2 separate regions of the Homo sapiens genome follow, and region 1 is linked to region 2. Evidence: promoter capture Hi-C in human tissues and cell types (Jung and others, 2019). All regions are on one chromosome and are shown on one strand. Each heading gives the region's core, a stretch centred on a gene start or on the middle of the fragment in contact. The rest is flanking DNA. Distances are from core to core; before and after follow the strand shown.

Region 1 (4,571 bases), core at 1,347-3,846, 310 kb after region 2:
CCTGAAACTAGCATTCAGGCAAGAAAGACTGACAGAAGAGCTGTGTGTGTGTGTGTGTGTGTGTGTGTGTGTGTGTGTGTGTGTGTGTGTGTTTGTGTGTCTGTGTGTGTGTGAGAGAGAGAGAGAGAGAGAGAGAGAGACCGACCAAACCAAAGTAGGTGGGTCCTGGGCAGCCCTAGGCTCACACTGCAGGACAGACACAGTGCAATTTATTAAACATTCGCCTGTTTAATTCATTTGTAAAATAGAATTTGAAGTAGTTTGTGCTTTTTAATAATACATGCTCATTGAATGTATTTGAAAGATATAGAAAAGTATAAAAAAGAAAGCAATCTCCTGTAATTTCACTACTCAGAGATAACTACAGTGGATATTTGAGTTTCTTTCTAGTCATTTTTCTCTGTATATATGTACAATTTTAAACAAAATGGGATCAAACTATACATGCAGTGCTTAGCCTACTTTTGCACTCATTATTGTATATATTTCTGTGTTCTTAAATATTTGAAATACAATTTTAATAGCTATATAACATATGGAATCATTTGGTTGTGGTATCATCTAGCTAATCGTTCTCCTAATTTTTGTCATTTCAGGGTTTTTTTTAACTTACGAATAACATTGCCACGGACATTGTTGCACGTAAATCTTAGTCCAGATTTCTCTTTCCTTAGGACTGATTCCCAGAAGTGGGATTACTGGGTCACAGAGTGTAAACATTTTTAAAGGCTCTGTGGAGCAGTTTGAACTGGTAGCAAATTTATTGATTCCTAAGAACCACTGAACACAGAAATCCTCTTCAGTGCAAGCCTGAACCAAGCAGCTGGACACATGCACCCCCGCTTTCAACAATGTCACATCTAATTAGGTGTTTAATGAATGTTTTTTGATGGGGATAAGGGAGAAGGATATACTGAGCTCTGTCATTAATTAAAGGAAGGAAACAGCTTAACTGAATCCCATTCTACTATCCCTACCAACTGTTATCTCTGGCAGGTAAATCATAGCATCTAAACAGTGAGGTTCCCCAAAAGATCCCCAACCCAGTTCCTGTGGGCTTAAAGCTACTCATCTCCTCTCCCTTTCCCCCGATTTAAAAGTAATACATATGGTGAATTTTTCTGTGTAGATGTTTTCCTTCAGTAGTAAATAGTTTGCAGTATAAAATGTTAATTATGCTTCTCATAGACTGATCTCACTCTAACCTTAACATTTGTGGTTATTAACCTCTGTTACATTTATTCTGAAATTCAAAAAAAGTTACCTAGCCTTCTTAAACATCACCATGTCCCTAGTGTATTCATTGATTCATGCATTATGGTTCTCTGTTGCTGTTTTATGCCTTCAAATTAGGAAGATGTGAAATTCTGTGGAAAACAAAGACTAACCTTAAAAATAAACTATCTCCTTTCTGTAGTAGGAAATGGACTGTTTTCAGAACTAACTTTCCTATCAAAAATTCAGTAGAAGTATGTATACCTGAATCATTTTTGTTTTTGTTAATGCTTCCAAACAATGTACTTTGAAATCAGAATCATTTCTTTATATTCATTTTTATGTAATTCTCCTGATGCTCTTCCTTACACAATAGTGATCAGAAAGGAGATGTAGTTTCCTTTCCCTGCCCATTATAGCTAAGTGGGTATCATAATGTAAGTTGGAGGGAATTTTATTATGCAAGAAGGAACTACCATTGGGTTTGATTGATTGAAGATGGACTTTGATGTGGTGTATCTGAAAGCTATTAAATGCAACTTACAAGCCTTAATAAAAATATTTATTATTTCATTATTTAGCAAGTTTACTTTTAAAATACTTTTTAGAGTATTTAACTCTCAAAATAAACAAACAAAGGTAAAACTATGCATGGAGAAAAAATGTGGAATAATGCATTCAAACCCGTAAAGCATTTTTATCTGTGGAGAGTAGAATTGTGGAGCAGGAGTAATTTGCTGCATCAAGCACCTCTGCAGTTTTGGGAACTTTTACCGTGTTGTGTCTTATTTAGTAGGTAGAATAAAGCAATAGATAAAAATAAGTAAAACATGTTCAACAAGTATTGAAATGCCAACTATGTACCAGACGTAATTAAGTGATCATCATCGAAACTGTAAAGGCTAAATATAAGAAAGACTTTGAGTATTTGCACCAGAGAACAATAATGAATATGACAATGAAAACACCTGAGCAGTTGGAATTTTCTAAGGTATAGTCATGCATCGCTTATTGACAGGAACACCTTCTGAGGAATGCGTCGTTAGGTGATTTCGTCCTTGTGCAAACATCATAGAGTGTACTCACACAAATCTAGATAGTATATCCTACTGCATAGCTAGGCTATTAGGCAAAACCTAGATAGTATATCCTACTACACAGCTAGGCTATAAGGCATATGCTATCTCACCTAGACTACAAATGTGTACAGCATGTGACTGTACTGAATACTGTTGTAATACAATGGTCAGTATTTGTGTATCTAAACATAGTTAAACATAGAAAAGGTACAGTACAAATGCAGTATAAAGGATAAAAAATGGTACACCTGTATAGAGCACTTACCATGAATGGAGCCTGCAGAACTGGAAGTTCCTCTGGGTGAGTCACTGAGTGACTCAATACAATCATGGTAGTATTGTGTCCTATTATGAAGGAATGTGAAAGCCTAGGACATTACTGTACACTACTATACACTTTATAAACACTGTACACTTAGGCTGCACTACATTTATTTTAAAAGATTATTCTTTCTTCAATAAATTAACCTTAGCTTACTGTAACTTGTACATTATAAACTTTTTTTTAACTTTTGACCCTTGTAATAACACTCTTAAACACACACCGTACAGCTGTACAAAATATTTTCTTTCTTTACATCCTTATTCCACATGCTTTTTCTATTCTAACTTTTTTCTTTACTTTTCTAAATTTTTTGTTAAGAACAAAGACAAAACACACACACATTAGCCTATGCCTACACAGGGTCAGGATCATCAATATCACTGTCTTCTACCTCCACGTCTTGTTCCACTGGAAGGTCTTCAGGAGCAATAACACACATGGAGCTGTCATCTTTTATGACAACAATGCCTTCTTCTGCAATACCTCCCAAAGGACCTACATGAGGCTGTTTTACAGTTAACTTTTAAAAAATATTTAAGTAGAAGGAGTACACTCTATAATAATGATAAAGTGTATAGTATAGGAAATACATAAACCAGTAACATAGTCATTTATTATCATTATCAAGTATTATGGATTGTACCTAATTGTATATGCTACACTTTCACGTGATTGTCAGCACAGTGAGCTTATTTACACCAGCATCACCACAAACTCGTGAGTAACACATTGCACTATGATGTCACTAGGTGATAGGAGTTTTTCAGCTCCATTATAATGTTATGGGAACACCTTCATATCTGCATTCCATTGTTGACCAAAACATCATTATGTGGCACATGACTGTACTTGTGGGCTGTGACAGTGTTGTCTGCCCTGGCACTGCCCTCGCCCTCTGCCTCCTAGATCTGTGGTTCCCACTGGATGCCTTGTGCCCAACTGAACTTCAGCTTCTTGACTGGCCCTTCCCGTAGCTGACTGCAATTAGGTGTGTCTTCAGTGTTAAACATCTCCTTTTCAAGGTAAAATCAAGAGGTCATGGGAACCCAGACACTTTCAGATGCTGATGGTGGGTATGTACTTTGCTACAAATATTTGGGAGGGCAATTTGGCAATACATTTTCAAAGCCTTAAAAATATTCTGACTTGATAAAAATCAGAATAGTGGTTACCTCTGGGAGGGTTATTGACTGGGGAGGGGGCTCAAGAGAGCCATCTGGGATGTTAGGTTCAATATCTTAATCTGGGTGGTGGTTTACAAGTGTGTGTGTGTGTGTGTGTGTGTGTGTGTGTGTGTGTTAAAATACATTGGTCTGTACATTTTATTACATGTGTGTTGATAAAAAAAGTTTAATTAAAAGTATGTGTTTGGAACGTTTGAACCAATAATTCCATGATAGTATTGTATCCTACGGTGAAAAAGATGCAAAGGTTTAGTTCATTGCATTATTTACAATGTTAAAAAACTGGCAATCTCTAAAATATTCAATAACAGTGAAATGGTAAATAAATTATGTTCCATTCATTTTAAATCATATTATCAAAGGTTTTTTCTTTACTGATATTGGAAAACATTTATTATATAGCGTTTGGTAACTAACACAGGTTACAAAATAGAAATAAATCAATAACAAAGTAAAGACAAGTACCAACACTGTTCCCTGGTGCTATGGTTATTTTCCTGGTACCCAAAGAAAAAGACCAGCTGGCAATGAGAATCAGGCAACACCCTTAACTATGGTTTTCCTCAATCAAGATTCACATGTTTGTGGTGCAGGCACTGAGTACTAGGCATTGACCTAAGGTAGTCTGGTGGGCACACCCCAACCTCAGTTAGGAATGTTTGGACTCTTTGAGGCTCTCCATTATTCTGAAGCTTCTCTCTGTCCTTGATCAACCAAAGTCTGGAAAACGAGAGTTGGATGGTGATAACCAGAGCGTAGAGATACTAG
Region 2 (5,057 bases), core at 1,480-3,979:
TTTTCCAGTTCTAAAATTCATTTTTTCTTTTCCAGCGGGCCCACTGTCAGAAATAAAATTCATTTTGGTATTCCTTTAGAAAACATACCACCATTATAATTATTTGTAATAAATTGTTTAATGTCTTTCTTCCCCACTTGACTGACAGCTCCATGAAGTCAGGGTACTTATTTTGCTCACCACTGTATCTCCAGATTTTAAGATAGTGTTGCCAGGATAGTAACTACCTACAATATATTTGTTCATTGTTTCAGAGTTCCCTGAAACCTTCAGTCTACTTAAACTAGGTCACTGACAACACTCAAATACATGTGTGTCTTTAGGAACTCAGGCCCGAGTAAGTCACCACTCAATTTTATCTTAATGGAACCTAGTAACAATACACTTTAAATAATTGTAAAAATTTGGGCTTTTTAGCAAAAAGCCTTCTGCCACAAAAATGAATTTTTTTTTTTTTTTTGAGATGGAGTCTTGCTCACTCTCCCAGGCTGGAGTGCAGTGGCACGATCTCGGCTCACTGCAACCTCCACCTCCCAGGTTCAAGCAATTCTTCTGCCTCAGCCTCCCGAGTAGCTGGGATTACAAGCATGAGCCACCACGCCCGACTAATTTTTATTTTATTTTATTTTATTTTATTTTATTTTATTTTATTTTTTTTTTTTGAGATGGAGTCTCGTTCTGTCGCCCAGGCTGGAGTGCAGTGGCGCTATCTGGGCTCACTGCAGGCTCTGCCCCGGGGTTCACGCCATTCTCCTGCCTCAGCCTCCCGAGTAGCTGGGACTACAGGCGCCCGCCACCTCGCCCGGCTAATTTTTTGTATTTTTAGTAGAGACGGGGTTTCACTGTGTTAGCCAGGATGGTCTCGATCTCCTGACCTCGTGATCCGCCCGCCTCGGAGTCTCGCTCTTTCGCCCAGGCCAGACTGCAGTGGCGCTATCTCGGCTCACTGCAAGCTCCGCCTCCCGGGTTCACGGCATTCTCCTGCCTCAGCCTCCCGAGTAGCTGGGACTACAGGCGCATGCCACCGCGCCCGGCTAATTTTTTGTATTTTTAGTAGAGACAGGGTTTCACCGTGTTAGCCAGGATGGTCTTGATCTCCTGACCTCAGGTGATCCACCTGCCTCGGCCTCCCACAGTTTTGGGATTACAGGCGTGAGCCACTGCGCCTGGCCAAAAATGAATTTTAAAAGACAGATCGGTGGCTCACACCTGTAATCCCAGCACTGTGGAAGGCCGAGGCGGGTGGAACACCTGAGGTCAGGAGTTCGAGACCAGCCTGGCCAACACGGCGAAACCCCGTCTCTACTAAAAAAAAAAATAATAATAACCAGACGTGGTGGCGCACACCTGTAATCCTAGCCACTAGGGAGGCTGAGGCAGGAGAATCACTTGAACCCGGGAGGCAGAGGCTGCAGTGAACCGAGATCCCGCCATTGCACTCCAGCCTGGGCAAAAAGAACGAAACTCGGTCTCAAAAAAAAAAAAAAAAAAAAGAGACACATCAAATATTTCGTGGAAAGAGAGCTCTGCACTCTTAATTAGAAGACCTGGGGGCCGTGCGCAGTGGCTCAAGCCTGTAATCCCAGCACTTTGGGAGGCCGAGGCGGGTGGATCACCTGAGGTCAGGAATTCAAGACCAGCCTGGCCAACCCCGTCTCTACTAATAATACAAAAATTAGCCGGGCGTGGTGGCGGGCGTCTGTAATCCCAGCTGCTAGGGAGGCTGAGGTAGAAGAATCGCTTGAACCCGGGAGGCAGAGGTTGCAGTGAGCCGAGATCGTGCCATTGCACTCCAGCCTGGGCAACAAGAGTGAAACTCCGTCTCAAAAAAAAAAAAAAAAGAGACCTGGATTCCAGTCCCACCTCTGCCATTAACTTGCTGTGTGGACTTTTGAAATTTCCTTATCCTTTTTAGGCCTGGTTCCTCAGCTGTAGTTCTAATATTCATTAATTCCACTAATATTTACTGTCCACTGCGTGCTGGCACTGTGGTTAAGTACTAGAAATACTGGGGTGAATAATAACAGCCAGTACTTTTTAGTAAATGCTTACTCTAGGCTTGAAATTTTGCTAAGGGAGTCATATGCACTATCTCATCTAATTTTCTATGAAATAGGCACTACTGTGACATTTTCTGTACTTTACAAATGAGGGAACTGAGGCACAGCGAGGTGAAATAACTTTCCTGGGATATCAAAAGGTGTGGTGAAGACAGGATTGGATTCCAGGCAGTGGGGCTTCAGATCTCATTCCAGTAATAATAGGAAACCGTTGGTGTCATAATTACGTGACTATTTCAGTGGCTTGCGTTTTGGTCTCAGCCCAGGAGTACTGGGGGGGTGGGCAATATGAGGGTTCAAGGACGCAGGGGTACATCAGAGAAACCATCAAGAGGTCTGATAAAAAGCGACACCGGGAGCAAGAATCTCTCGCTCTCGCAATTTCCATGCCAGGAAGGTGAAATGGGAGGTGTCAGCGAGTCGTACGCACGGCCTCTTCTCTGGACGCCCGTTGGGTAAAGGAGAGCGTCCGGGTCACGCAGGCCTATAGCAAGTCTCTGAACTCGGCAGGGGGCGGGGAGAAAGGGCACGCAGTGTGCGCGCAGCGGGCGCGCCGGCCCTTCCGACGCCTGCGCGGGCGGGCAAACGGACGGCTCCGCCCAGCCGCCGGCTCCTTTACCCCGCCCCACTACCCCCGCCTTCGCGGCGCTCGTTTCCTGGCGCTCCCCACCTTTAGCGAGACCAACGAGAGAACACCGCCTGCAGCTAGAACAGCCTGGTCAGGAGCGTAACGGAGTGGTGCGCCAACGTGAGAGGAAACCCGTGCGCGGCTGCGCTTTCCTGTCCCCAAGCCGTTCTAGACGCGGGTGAGTGGCGGGGCCTCGACCCCCACCCCAAGCGCACCCTGACTCCCCTCCCTCTCTTGGGGGAGGCCTGGGCCCCAGCCCTCTCCCAGCATGCTCCACGCGGGATGCTTGGGCAGGTGCAGCGGGAGGATTGTCAGCACAGGAGACCGAGAGTCTTCTTCCTGGGGGCGCTCTCTTGGTCCCTCAGAGGGATATCGAGGTTACCATGTCCTCCCTCTCACTTCTCTTCCCTATTTCGTCTTCGTTTTCCGTACTTCACCCCAACTACCTTCACCCAAAAAGGTTCATCTAAAAACCATTGGGGTAGTTTCTGTTTCATTTGTGCTCGTGTGCAGTTTTGTTTCCTTCTGCACAAAGTATCCTATCATATGCATCCCTAGTGTTATATTTTTTGCCTCTGTGATGGGGAAAAAATCTCCTTAGAATAATTTTTGCAAATTATTTTATTTAAAATGTGTAGACTTACTGAGTTTTGATCACTATTTTTGCAGCCAGGAGTAGGATCACCATCAGGAAGAATTCTGACACATATGCCATAATTGAGCAAAGAAACATGTGAATTATGTATTGGCCAGAAATAATGAAAACTGCGTGACATGAAATACAAAAATCCTATATAAATTAATCTTAGAGTGCACCTGACAATTCTTTTTCTTTTTTCTTTCTTTCTTTCTTTTTTTTTTTTGAAACAGAGTCTCGCTCTTGTTGCCCAGGCCGGAGTGCTGTGGTGCGATCTTGGCTCACTGCCTGCAACCTCCGCCTCCCGGGTTCAAGCAATTCTCCTGCCTCAGCCTCCTGAGTAGCTGGGATTACAGTCATATGCCACCATGCCCGGCTAATTTTTGTATTTTTAGTCGAGACAGGGTCTCACCATGTTGGCCAGGCTGGTCTTGAACTCCCTACCTCAGGTGATCCACCTGCCTCGGCCTCCCAAAGTGCTGGGATTACAGGCGTGAGCCACCGCACACAGCCGACAATTCTAATATTATGCCGAGCTTGTTTTCTGTCACTTCTCTTCTTGGAACTGTGTTTATTGACCAAGTTCTGTGAGTGACACAGGAAAGTCTTCCTGCCTCTTGCCCCACCCACCGCTCAGAAATTACATCTGCCAAGCTATTCCACACCTTGTCTTTCTGGTAGAAGTCAAAATTCCATTTCCTCTAGCAGAAAACCACAGGAGTGGTTTCCTTGTAGCAATATGGTGCTGTTGGGTGCAAAATATCAGTTATGGTCAACAGATCCCACTTTTTTCCCATTTGTATGAAAACAAGGATATTCAGTAACCCATTTATTAAACTCTAATGTGGTAGAAGCACTATGGCAATTATTCTTCTGTAATGGAAAAAAACCATTAAACTGATATTGAGAAATGTGGTTTCTAGTCCACTTATACCACTGTCTAACTGTGTGACTGAGTCAGTTATTTAACCTCTGTGGACTTCCATTTCCTCTCTGTAAAATGAGAGAAGTGACTGACATTGGGTAGTTTTCTAAGGCTCCTTTCAACCATAAGAGAAAACTGGGAAGTCTAAGTAGCTCAATAGATTGCTTTTTTCTGAAGATGGAGGGAAGATTGGAAAATTCAGCCTTTACTAGAATAAATGGTTAACATACAATTTTTTTCAACAAGTTTATTTAATGTCAGCTTTTAATTTCTTTTATTTATTTATTTTTTCTGAGACAGAGTCTCACTCTGATGCCCTGGCTGGAGTGCCGTGGTGAGATCACAGCTCACTACAGCCTCCGCTTCCCAAGTTCAAGAGACTCTTGTGCCTCAGCCTCCCGAGTAGCTGGGATTACAGGCACCCACCACCACGTCTGGCTAATTTTTTGGATTTTGGGTAGAGACAAGGTTTCACCATGTTGCCCAGGCTGGTCTCGAACTCCTGAACTCAAGGGATCCACCCACCTCAGCCTCCCAAAGTGCTGAGATAACAGCCATGAGCCACTGCACCTGCCTCTTAATTTCTAATTGAAATAAAAGTGTAAATTTTTCCATTTTTACTTCCCCAAAGAAGAAGAAAATTCCTTTTGAGGAAATGAAAATGTTTATTAATGGGCCCCAGATATATCTATCAATATTCCTTTTTGATCCAAAAGATGTAACTTTTTATTATGGGCTTCTATTACATCAATAGTTGGGATACTGTATTGGAAACCATTTAGTTTTAGGAACAAAAGGGTAAATATT

Evidence for each region. Contacts are between HindIII fragments. The study calls those that stand out against the background at their distance.
Region 1: a contact is called between a fragment that was not itself captured here and the fragment with the promoter of C1GALT1C1 in region 2, in 1 of the 25 tissues and cell types used here (pancreas).

What each region holds. Positions count from the first base shown.
Region 1 is chrX:120,314,814-120,319,384 of GRCh38, reverse strand. No RefSeq gene overlaps it. Among named protein-coding and RNA genes, the nearest start is that of TMEM255A, 5.6 kb to the right of the region's middle. The HindIII fragment of the contact is 6,105 bases long and covers 1-4,571 here.
Region 2 is chrX:120,627,726-120,632,782 of GRCh38, reverse strand. It overlaps C1GALT1C1 (C1GALT1 specific chaperone 1), which reads left to right and starts at 2,729. Exons shown (of 2, transcript NM_001011551.3): 1 at 2,729-2,866. RefSeq lists a silencer at 2,492-2,761 and an enhancer at 2,421-3,348. The HindIII fragment of the contact is 19,007 bases long and covers 1-5,057 here.